Regions from separate parts of the Homo sapiens genome. Here region 2 is linked to region 1. Evidence: promoter capture Hi-C in 16 types of primary human blood cells and fetal thymus (Javierre and others, 2016). All regions are on one chromosome and are shown on one strand. The core of a region is centred on a gene start or on the middle of the fragment in contact, and the rest is flanking DNA. Distances in the headings are between cores, read along the strand shown.

Region 1 (6,288 bases), core at 2,964-5,463:
AATAATTTAAGTTTTACGTGCTCCCTTTGAAATGTAATATGCCATTTAAATTGTAATTTAATTCAAGGTAAATTCTCTCATAACGTTAATAGTGACCCTGTAAGCTACACAGTCTTCCAAGGTGTTTTTTTGGATTTAGTCTTAGGTTAAAGACTTCAGGCTAAGTTTAGCAACTGTTAGAAATAATGCGGTTGAGAGGAAGGCTGTGGAAGTAGGTAAATTCAGGACATTCTGAAACAAGCACTTAGAAAAATTACCATTTGTGAAACACTGACCTACTTCAAAGCTAGGCATAGGTACCACTATCATTATGTTGAAACACAGAAACATTTCCACCACACAAACAAAAGACTTTTATTTAAAAACAGTAGCCTTTCTTAGATATCATCAGATTAATTTAAATTGAAAGAATAACAGATATTATCTGTTAAGTCATATTCCTTACTCTGATTGTCCCATTGAGCTTTATTCTTTCTTTCTTTCATTCATCCATTCAAAAATCCTTATAGGATTTATTCTGTTTCCAGGCACTTAGAGAAACAGCTGTGAATTAGACAAAGATCCTGGGCACCTGAGACTTAATTTTATGAAAAAACAGACAATAAAGAAGTAAATAAATATAATTTCATGTGAAGATAAATACTATTTAAATAAAAACAGTGAGCTATAAGCTAGGAAGTGATTGGTATTGAGGGGTGCACTTAGATTGGGTGGTCTGGAAAGCTCTCTCTTAGGTGTAGTGTTTGAGTAGAACCATAAATGAGTAAAAAGGCCACGTTAATATGAAGAGAAGAGAGAACAGAAAAGTGAAAATGTCACACGTGAAGAATTAACTTGGTGAGTTGAAGGGAGATCAAGACCAGTGCTCATGTGAAACAAGGGTGGGGAAGACGGTAGGAGATAGAAACTGGAGAGGTAAGTAGTGGCCAGATCAGGTAGACTGTTGAAAGCCAAAGCAGGGAGTCTGAATTTTATTCTAAGTGTGCTTACAAATATTTAGAGTTTATAAATAATTAAGCAGGAAATTACAATGATCTTATTTATTATCCCCTGTGAAGGTCTCCTGTTTTCTCAGATTAACAAATTCATGGTTCTCTTTAAAAGTCCAGCTCAAGTATCACACGCATTGTAAAGCCTTTTGTCATTGTCAGTGAGGCAGTGGTTGGGTGGTCCTGTTTAACCAGCTTTCCTAGAGGTGACTTCTCCCATTCAGTTCTATTCAAGTCAAAGATGAGTCTTAGAGACTGTCTCATGCTTTAGTAGTTTATTCTGGCATCGCTCTTAAAAGATAGTGGGAAGAGGCTGGGGGTATAGACCAGATAGTCAGGGCTCGGATGATCAAGAGAGCCTCCAACCAGAGACTGTTCTCAGTGTTGGGGGTTTCTTCCCCCTTTTTAAAACCTGTATTCAGCTTGGTCAGTTATCAGATGTTTCTCTCATAAATGGAGTCGAAGCTATTCTTACAAGGGTAAGCTTTAAGGTTCATGAAAGTTGCATCTGTGCTGAAGTGGCCTGGTCTCCTGGAAATCACTGGGCCAGGGGTGGAAATCTCCAGGGCCAGTTAGTATTATATTGATAAATACATTTAGTGTCAGCCCCTCAAGACACTTGAGTGAGCCTTATGGCTATAATTACTCTTATAGCCACGATATATCTCTTATAGTACATTTTCCTTAATTTTCCAAGTATCTTCTCTGTCTTTAGTTTTCCCATTTCATACATTCTTGCATTTACATGGTACATTTCTCTACTATAGTACCTTCTGCTTGTTTTCAACTTGTCTGTTCTACTGAACTGTTAACTCCATAAGGGTAGGGACTGTGTTTATCTTCCTGTATGCATAGTTTATAATGCAGTGCACAGCATATCGTAATGTTAAGAAAATGATTACTGAATGAACAAATGAGTATTTCAATTATCCCATAACTTAGGCTTCTGGTCTTAACCTTTCTGTCAAATTCCAGTTTCTTATTTTTAAATGCCTATTTACATTTTTAATTGTCTAGTTTTTCTTCAGACTCAACTTCACATACCCACATCTCTTTCCAACTTCTCCGTTTAATTAATTAATTAATTAATTTGAGAGGGAGTTTCCCTCTTGTTGCCTAGGCTGGAGTGCAATGGTGCAATCTTGGCTCACTGCAGCCTTTGCCTCCTGAGTTCAAGCGATTCTCCTGCCTCAGCCTCCCAAGTAGCTGGGATTACAGGTGCCCACCACCATGCCCAGCTAAGTTTTTGTATTTTTAGAAGAGATGGGTTTTCGTCATGTTGGCCAGGCTGGTCTCAAACTCCCGGCCTCAGGTGATCTGCCTACCTCAGCCTCCCAAAATGCTGGAATTACAGGCGTGAGGCCCTGCGACTGGCCAACTTCTCCGTTTTTATTGGTAATACCAACTTCTTTCTAATTTCCTTGACCAGAAATTTTAGAGTACTTTTATTCTTCCCCTGATGCTGGGGATGTCCTTTACTCTATTTCATTGACTGTAAGCCTAGTTCAGACTTTTATCACCTAATTCCTGGAAAAATGCAACAAAGTGGCTGGCTGGGGAATAATTCTGGCTCAAACGTCTTCCCTTCTCAAATCTGTACTGCATGTCTTTGCAAGATCATTGTTAATTAAATATTTTATTCGTGAGTTCATGCATTGTTCCATTTTCCAAGTATTTTTGCACACTGAATGTATGACATGCCACTCCCTTATATAAAGCCTTACTTAGTGCTCACATGAACTAAATGAGATAGTATTTTTATCTCCATTTTACAGATAAGGAAATTAGGATTTAGATTAACTGCCCAAAGTCAGTAACACCAAACACAAAATGGTAGAGCTGAGGCCTGAACACAGGTCTTTTTAGTTGAAAACTCTGAGCTCTGCTTAATCATTGTGCTAGTAAGTTCGTATCCCAAGTTTAAAGTCCTTCTTCACTTTGGAGGATTTCCATGAAATAGCCTACCAATCCTACTTCCCATTTCTGCTGCACTTGGATTTTCTATTTCATATTTCAAATATTTTTCTAGTTATCTCCTGTGCATTGCCCTTCTCTACTTCAAGTAGATTGTAAGCTTCTTAAAACCTTACTCTTATTACACTTGCCTTGCATTTCTATGAAGATCTACTGTTGTAGATGACACACTAAATTCTCAGTGAATAATTTATAAAATCTTTAGCACAGTCCTTGGCACATATGCATGTTTAACAAATGGTATCAATGATTATTATTACTACACAGGGACTGATGCCTCAAACTGAAGACCTAATAGGAAACCAGAAAATTCTGATCTCTTCCTCAGTCCTAAGAACTCTGCTTGCTTTCTCCACAATTTAGACTAGTGGTTTCCAACAATAAGTGAGTACATTTCAGTCTCATAGTCTCATCTCTCTACTACGAAACAGTGCTAAGTATGATATAGACATCACCATAACATGAACAACACAGCAAAATTTTGTCCATTACTGCTCTCTTTGAGGGTACTTTGGAGAAAGGAAAATGGAATAGTTGTAGTTACATTTTTGAAAAAATGGTTAATACCCTATCTATCGACAGATGGATCTATTGATGGATAAACTTCATTTAACTTTCATGAAGTTACTAGCGTCTTGTCAAGACTTCCTGGCTCAAGTTTCTGATGTACAGAACTTAGCATTCTTCAGGCACCCCCCTGTTGTATAATCCCTGCTTCATTTTGGCGCTTCAAGCAGAATTGGTTCACATGCAGCAATAGGAAAATCCGACATTCAGGCCTTGAATGGTTCACATGACGCAGTGAAAACGGTCGATTTAGGGCCTCCCTAGTCCTGATTATTTTTTTTTGAGACGGAGTCTCGCTTTCTCGCCAGGCTGGAGTGCAGTGGCGCGGTCTCGGCTCACTCCAACTTCCGCCTGCTGGGTTCAAGCGATTCTCCTGCCTCAGCCTCCCAAGTAGTGGGAATTACAGGCACGCGCCACCATGCCCAGCTAATTTTTGTATTTTTAGTAGAGATGGGGTTTCACCATGTTGGGCAGGCTGGTCTGTGAACTCCTGACCTTGTGATCCGCCCACCTCGGTCTCCCAAAGTGCTGGGATTACGAGCGTGAGCCACGGCGCCCGACCCCCTAATCCTGATTTTCGAAGATATGACGCATGTATCCTGCCCCCGCGAGCGCCGTCGCGCCGTCGCGCCACATACGTCACACGCTCTTCGGAAAGCGTTGCTGCGTAAATGGCGGGGGCGTGTCTTTTGGCTCCTCCGCGTGTAGTTACCTGAGAAACGCGGGAAGTTGGGCCCAGGCAGTGTTGCTGCGGTTGCCTAAGTTGTTTTTCTATTTCTGGAGAGAGCCGTGAGCTTGTCCAGGGGCCCCAATCCTGAGGCCGACCCGGTTTCTGGCGCGGTGCGATGGAGGTAGTGGAGGCCGCCGCCGCTCAGCTGGAAACTCTGAAATTCAATGGCACCGACTTTGGAGTTGGGGAAGGTCCGGCGGCTCCGTCTCCGGGCTCTGCCCCTGTGCCAGGGACACAGCCGCCGCTACAGTCGTTTGAGGGGTCCCCGGACGCTGGGCAGACCGTGGAGGTTAAGCCTGCCGGGGAGCAGCCTCTGCAGCCCGTTCTGAACGCCGTCGCGGCCGGGACCCCGGCGCCGCAGCCACAGCCACCGGCTGAATCGCCGGCCTGCGGAGACTGCGTCACCTCCCCAGGAGCCGCAGAGCCTGCGCGGGCGCCGGACTCCTTGGAGACCTCGGACTCGGATTCGGACTCGGACAGGTCGGGTGCCTAAGGGACCCGGAGCTGTGGGGAGAGGTCTTGTATGACGGGCGGGGGTGGCTGGGGCCTAGGAGCCTAGAGGTTGCTTGTGTGGGCCCTGGAGGGTGGGCAGGTCGTTGGTGCTCCGGGCTCACGTGTTGAAGTATTGGCTCCGACTGCCCCTTATTCGCTGCCTCTCAAAGCAGGTCGCGTTGTGAATCTGAGCTTAGTACTGACTTATTTCCTAAATTTGGTGGCCTGAAGGGTTCTATGTATAGATCGTATCATTTTTTGTTAGACTTTAGAAAACCCGAGGATCTTAGGTTATTTCCGTAACTACTCAGTTTAGGCTGTACTTTTGTGGTTATAGTTGAGTTTTGTGTCAGATCTGATTTTTTTTTATCATCACATCTAGGCTTTGTTTTTTGAACCACATACATTGGGGATCAGGAAAAGTATTATTTTTTGTGTTTCAAAGCTGGCTCTTGATGATTACGTTAATTTATAGAATCCTTGCAGGGAACACGTGTTTATGAAAGTAGCCAAACAGTGTTATTTAGTAGTATCTTATGCTTCTTACGTTTTGTGAGAGCCTTTCCCCCTTGCCCCCACACCTGTCTTTTAAATATGAAATCTCTGGGCTGGAGAGGACTCCAGCATGTGGGATGTTACTAAACCACACTGAACATTGTCTACAAATAGTTGAGTGTGTTGAGTGGGGTACTGAACAGGTTAACAAGATAGACACGTGTTGAGGAGGTGAGAAGTTTAGTTTTCAGGGAAGTCATCAGCGGAGAGTGGAAGTGAAGAAGGCTGAAGGATTTGAGTAGAAGGAGAGGGTATGAAATGTACTGGGAGGGGGAAGTAACAACTGTAAACAAGGTTGGATTTCTTGGCAGTACTAAGATTGCAGTATAATCATCTTGTGGGATTTCAGAGCTCATTTTACTAGCAAAGAAAAGTAAATGGTAGATGATTTGGGGATACGTTTTGAAAGCAGAAGGGATATGGCGTCATAATAGGCCAACTTAGTGTCAGGATACTACTTCTGACTCTGTGGGTGATGGCAGAGGATACCAAATATTTGAAGAAGTCAAAAGGGGTACAACTTTTTGCCAGTTAACAGCAGTGAAATCAAATGGAAACTGAAGAAGCAGGTTTAGTTAGTATAATGCACTTTTTCTTGTTTTAACTTGCTATGAGTGTGGGTGTATAGGCCATTCGTACAAAGGTGGCCAGTATGCCGTCAGAGATTGGACATGGAGTTTAGAGATGTCATAGCTGAAGATTTAGGCGTTAATTCACATGGATGATGACTGAAATCATTAATGTGTATGGGATTATCCATGAAAGTAGTAGCGAAAGAAGAGAAAGTGAGGATGGAACCCTTAAAAATAGTATATAAAAGGGCTTCAAGTGGGGAGCCAACAAACAAAATTTAAACTGAGACAGTGGTTGCTGTTAACGATAATTTCTGTGGAAGATAAGGACCAAGTGAGTTTTCAGAAAGTAGAATGGTCTACATACTTTCGTAACTGAGGATTTCCCAAGTTGTCTGTAGCCTGAGAA
Region 2 (6,486 bases), core at 1,021-3,520, 2.0 Mb before region 1:
TTTTTTAGATTTAACATTATGTCTTCTATGAATAGAAATAGTTTCACATCTTCCTATTTTGTTTCCTCTGGTCCTTGATTTAGAAGTTTCTTTTTAATTTGAATACCATTTATTTCTTTTTCTTGCTTAATTTTTCTGGCTCTGTAAACTTTCATAGCATACATTTGCCTATGAAAATAGTTGGGTTTTGCATTATATTTGTATTCTTTTTTCATGGATAAAATTATAGCATAGCTATTATTTTGCAACCTGCTTTTGTAACATATTATATTAAAGGCCTATTTATTTTGCCAGTGTATGTAGATCTACCTCATTTTTCAAATGGTTGAATAGTCTTCTAAGTTTAGATATCATAGTTTTTTTATTCATTCCTTAAATAATGGATATTTATGTTGCTTTTAGTTATTTGTCATTTGTATTTTAACTTTATGTTTTCTTTTTTCTTATGCAAAAGTTTCAAACTTTTTATGTAGTCAAATTTCTTGAATCTTTTTCTTTATTGTTTTGTATTCGGGGTAATGCATGGAAAGTATTGTAAGACCACATTAAAATATTTTTTCTAGAAATTCTGTTGGTTTGATTTCACCTTTTTTTCTTTTAATTTTTTTTTTTTTTTTTTTTTGTGAGACAGGGTCTTGCTCTGTCACCCAGGCTGGAGTGCAGTGTTGTAATCATTGCTCACTCCAGCCTTGAACTCCAGGCTCCAGTGATCCTCCTGCCTCAGCCTCCCAAGTGCTGGGATTACAAGCATGAGCTATCACAGCCAACTACTTATTTTTTATGTTTTAGTCTGAATCATTAGTAATTAATTTTGGTTTAAGAAATGAGGAGTAGACTGGGCGCGATGGCTCATACCTGTAATCCCAGCATTTTGGGAGGCCAAGGTGGGCGGATCACTTGAGGTTAGGAGTTTGAGACCAGCCTAGCCAACATGGTGAAACCCGTCTCTACTAAAAATACAAAAATTAGCCAGGCGTGATGGTGCGCAGCTGTAATCCCAGCTACTCTGGAGGCTGAGGCAGGAGAATTGCTTGAATCCGGGAGGCAGAGGTTGCAGTGAGCCAAGATTGCACCACTGCACTCCAGCCTGGGTGACAGAGCGAAACTCTGTCTCAAAAAAAAAGAAAAAGAAAAAAATAAAGAAAAAGAAATGGGGAGTGATTCAGCTTTTTTTTCTTCCAAGTGGCTGGTGGGTTTTCTCAACATCATTATTAAATTATCCATCAGGTCGGGCGCGGTGGCTCACACCTGTAATCCCAGCTCTTTGGGAGACTGAGGCAGTCAGATCACCTGAGGTCAGGAGTTTGAGGTCAGCCTGGCCATCATGGTGAAACTCCATCTCTACTAAAAATACAAAAAAATTAGTTGGGCGTGGTGGCAGGTGCCCATATTCCCAGCGACTTGGAAGGATGAGGCAGGAGAACCGCTTGAACCTGGCAGGCGGAGGTTGCAGTGAGACGAGATCCTGCCATCGGACTCCAGCAACAGAGTGAGACTCCATCTCAAAATAAATAAATAAATAAATAATCCATCAACTGGGGATTACTTTTAAAAGAAATATAAAAGTCAAGTTGGAAAGGAACTAGGCCCCTTTGATTCCTAGAACGGTTGTACAAAGACTGAGACTCAGCAGAGTGAGCTTCCTGAAAGAGGGTAAAGCCTCATATAGTTTGGAACTGAATCAGAGCCAGATTAGGGAGCTACTGCTCAGCTCAGTGTGGAGAATCAAAATAATTATTTTATAAGTTATTTGGGGATACCTTCAAATATTCTTTTAGACCTCAACACACAGCATTATGAATTGTATTGTAAAAGAAAAGTTTTACTTCTTAACTGTCTAGAACTTAATTAAAAGAGATATCACTACAAAGCACTTAAAGCCCCATCTTCTGATTATTTCTGAAATAAGGAGTTCCTCCCATGAGAATGCTGCCGACTGCTTGGGCTGGATGCCTGAGCCTGGTACTTGGCATTAAAGAAGAATCAGGAGTGAGTGGAGATTAGACAAGGTCAGCTCTATAATCACTAAGTAGTAGCCTTGAGTTTCATGAAGGTTACAAAATTCATTTTCACCCTGAGTTTCGGTATGTGTTTTCTAAAACCTTTCAGAGAAATTGTGGTTTTGGTCTGAAACTTCACATATTTGGTGTCTATCCAAACATGAATTACTTTTGGGATTTTTAGCAAACTTTTTTTTCTGCTCCTGAGTCAGTGAAACAAACAAACAAACAAAATTCTGCCTTCAAAAATAAGTGTGCTTTTAAATGCCAGGATTTGAGATCATAAGAACTTTAGGAGAAAACAAACAATAATGAGAGGGCAAGTACTGGATATCAAGCCTGAAACTTTACAAGCCCTGAGACCTCTAACAGAGTCCATTATCACTCAAATGTGGAATGTTTGGTTACAACGGGACTCTATTTGTGGTACAGGTGCTTTGAAAGATACAAACATTTACGAAACAAATAAGTGGAAACTGGAATGTTTCCAATTGCTTACAATATCCTTAAATTTCTTTCTAGAAAAAAAAATTTTTCCAGAAAAAAGTACATAAACTAAATATAATTTGATATGCTAAAATAACTATTGACCTCCTTTTTTTGTCTGTTCATTGAAAGGGAATTTTTCAATGGCATCTCTCTAAGTACCTAAGAGAGATTTAGCTACAAAACATTATCCAAAGACAGAATTTTGGATATCTTCATTTCTGACAATGGTATAGGGCAGCCTAAGAGAATTGTAGAAATATTTAGCTAGGATCAACTTGTTCTAAAATTTTATTTAAAAGGCAAGTTAAGAAAAAAAAAATAAGTATGGGAGGTGGTAAATACATTAATTAGCTTGATTCAATCATTCTGCAATGTATCCATATACCAAAACATCATGTTGAACATCATAAATATATATAACTTTTATTTATTGATTAAAAATAAATTTAGGCTGAGCACAGTGGCTTATGCCTATAATCCCAGCACTTTGGGAGACCGAGGTGGGAGGACTGCTTGAGCCCAGGAGATCAAGACCAGCCTTGGCAACATAGTGAGACCCCATCTTTATTCAATAAATAAATAAATAAATCCATTTCAAAGGCAGATTAAAGTCAATATCAGTAAAGAGATCCTGCTTTAAAATTAACAAAAATATCAATTAAGTACCTATTGTTTGTATGCATGTTACGTTATGCCAGGCTGAATAATAGAAATCATAGTGAATAAAGGACAGATTTTGATGTTGAAAAAAAATCAATGAGATATTATTAACATTTTAATATCTGTGATCAGGAATGAGCACGGTGCCTGGAACAATGCTGATGGTGACAACACAGGAAAGATGGGGCTTCAGTCCAGCATCTTCTAATGGTGAACTGTTTGGTAGCATAGAGGTGGAAAGGTCATGGCTGACACTCCTATAACAAAAGCCAGATTAACAAGAGAAAAGCATAACAGATTTATTTATTTATTTATTTAAGAGGGAGTCTCGCTCTGTCACCCAGGCTGGAGTGCAGTGGCGCGATCTCGGCTCACTGCAACCTCTGCCTCCCGGGTTCAAGCAATTCTCCTGCCTCAGCCTCCTGAGTAGCTGGGATTACAGGTGATCTAATGACAATAGACTGAGTAGGGATAAGAATTTACAAGCATCTACTTTAATGCTTAGTACCAGGGTCAGCAAGGCCTGTTTGTTCAAAAGTCATAGAGAAACTTGGCTTTTGAGGCCTGCCAATGTGTCCTTCACTTCAAGTACTCAGCATGCAAAAGCACTATACTTGTGATATTATCCTCTTCTTTTTTTTTGTTGTTGTTGTTGAGACAGGGTCTTGCTCTGTCACACAGGCTGGAGTGCACTGGCATGATCTCGGCTCACTGCAACCTCTGCCTCCCAGGTTCAAGAAATTCTTGTGCCTCAGCCTCCTGAGTGGCTGAAACTACAGGCACGCACCACCACACCTGGTTAATTTTTGTATTTTTGATAGAGACGGGGTTTCACCATTTTGGCCAGGCTAGTTGCATTTTTAAACTTTTAAATCTGAAAAGTGTCTTGCTCTGTTGCCCAGGCTGGAGTGCAGTGGTGCAATCTCCGCTTCTGGGTTCAAACCATTCTCCTGCCTCAGCCTCCTGAGTAGCTGGGATTACAGGCGCATGCCACCATGCCTGGCTAATTTTTGTATTTTTAGTAGAAATGGGGTTTCGTCTGTTGGCCAGGCTGGTCTTGAAGTCTTAATGTCAGGTGATTCGCCCGCCTTGGCCCCCCAAAGTGCTGGGATTACAGGTGTGAGCCACTGCGCCTAGCCGATATTATCTTCTGAGCCCCAACACTAGGAAAACAGCTTCTCTCCTCCTCTCCTTACTCCTCATAAGTAAATAAACGCAAGAATCTTCACCAAAAGATCTTTAGTCATACAAAAATGAAGTGTCAGATACTTTTTAAATATAACTTATTTACAGGGCTATGCTTATATAAATTGCTTTAACAGTCATTAGAGCATTATATGGGCTGAGAACATATTTTTAATATATTATTAAAACAATGGGTCTGGCATGGTGGCTCTTGCCTGTAATCCCAGCACTTTGGGAAGCCGAGGCAGAAGAATCACTTGAGACCAGGAGTTCAAGACCAGCCTATAGTGAGACTCTGTCTTTACAAACAAAAAACAAACAAAAATGATTATGTATGTTAATAATGCCTTAATAAATCTGATTTAGACAAAAAATGACTAACATTTGCTTAGTGCTTTGTAGAGACAACATTGTATAAAGAGCATTACATGCATTATTTTATTTAATAGAAAATCTCTGGCTGGGCACAGTGGCTCACGCCTGTAATCCCAGCACTTTGGGAGGCTGAGGTGGGCAGATCACTTGAGGTCAGGAGTTCAAGACCAGCCTGGCCAACATGGTGAAACGCTGTCTCTACTAAAAATGCAAAAATTAGCCAGGCATGGTGGCTGACGCCTGTAATCTCAGCTACTTGGGAGGCTGAGGCAGGAGAATGACTTGAATCTGGGAGGCAGAGGTTGCACTGAGCCAAGATCACGCCATTGCACACCAGCCTGAGCGACAAGAGTGAAACTCTATCTCAAAACAAAACAAAACAAAACAAAAGGAAAGAAAATTTCTGTAAAAGGGAAACTAAAACTTCCCCACCTCAGCCTCCAAAGTAGCTGCTACTACAGGTGCACGTCACCACACCTAGCTAATGTTCTAATCTTTTGTAGAGACAGAGACTCACCATGTTGCCCAGGCTAGTCCCGTACTCCAGGCACCAAACAATCCTCCTGCCTTGGTGTCTCAACATGCTAGGGGCCATAGGCATGAGCCACCTTGCCCAGTCAGCTCCTAAGAACTTAAGCTAAGTGCCCAATATCACATGCTTGGTAAGATGCAGAACTCAAACCTCCATGACTAATTCTGGAGCCCTGGTCTTAACCAGTGTGCTGTCCCTGTGAAAGTACATGTCTTGGCTAGGTGCAGTGGCTCACACCTGTAATCCCTGTACTTTGGGAGACTGAGGCGGGAGGGTGGCTTGAGACCAGGAGTTTTGAGACCAGCGTGGGCAACATAACAAAGTCCCATCTTCACAAAAAGAAAAATCTTAAAAATAAGCCTGGTATGGATGTGTGAACATATAGTCCCAGATGCTTGGGAGGCTGAAGAGGGAGGATTGTTTGAGCCCAGGAGGTTGAGGCTGCAGTGAGCTATGATAGCGCCCCTGTGCTCCAGCCTGGTTAACAGAGTGAGATCCTGTGTCGAAAACAACAACAGAAAAGCATGTCTTGACATAATAATGAAATGAAATGTGTGAACCTTGATTGGATTCTGGTTACTGAAAAAGAAAAAACAGCAGCTGGGCCAGGCACAGTGGTGTATGCCTGTTATCCAAGCTACTTGGGAGGCTGAGGTGGGAGGATTGCTTGAACTCAGGAGTGTGAATCCAGCCTGGGCAACATAGCAAGACTCCATCTCAAAAACAAAACAAAACAAAATAAAACAAAAAAAGCAGCTAAAAAAGACATTTTGGAAACAACTTAGAAAATTTTTGCCATAGATTGGTTATTAGTAAACATGGAATTACTATTAGTTGTGTGTAATATTGATATTGTGGTTATGAAAGAAAATATAAAATATCCTTATTTTAGGCAACAAAGTATCTAGGAATGAAGCTTCATATTGTCTTCAATTTACTTTCAAGTAGTTCAGTTAAAAAATGGCCAGGCACGGTGGCTCACACCTGTAATCCCAGCACTTTGGGAGGCCAAGGCAGGCGGATCACAAGGTCAGGAGATCGAGACCATCCTGGCTAACACAGTGAAACCCCGTCTCTACTAAAAATACAAAAATTAGCTGGGTGTGGTGGCGGGCGCCTGTAGTCCCAGACCCTGGGGAGCCTGAGGCAGGAGAATGGCGTGAACCCGGGACGCGGAGCTTGCAGTGAGCCGAGATCGCGCCACTGCACTCCATCCAGCCTGGCGACAGAGCGGGACTCCATCTC

What was found. The method cuts DNA at HindIII sites, captures the fragments that hold promoters and counts their contacts. A CHiCAGO score of 5 or more calls a contact.
Region 2: a fragment that was not itself captured here is called in contact with the fragment with the promoter of NAF1 in region 1 in 2 of 17 cell types (total CD4 T cells and naive CD8 T cells); the score reaches 6.4 in total CD4 T cells.

The regions. Positions count from the first base shown.
Region 1 is chr4:163,164,815-163,171,102 of GRCh38, reverse strand. It overlaps NAF1 (nuclear assembly factor 1 ribonucleoprotein), which reads left to right and starts at 4,213. Exons shown (of 8, transcript NM_138386.3): 1 at 4,213-4,740. The coding sequence starts at 4,376. RefSeq lists enhancers at 4,260-4,459, 4,480-4,599, 4,630-4,709, 4,201-5,068. The HindIII fragment of the contact is 3,845 bases long and covers 3,066-6,288 here.
Region 2 is chr4:165,114,342-165,120,827 of GRCh38, reverse strand. No RefSeq gene overlaps it. Among named protein-coding and RNA genes, the nearest start is that of TMEM192, 4.7 kb to the right of the region's middle. The HindIII fragment of the contact is 7,778 bases long and covers 1-6,159 here.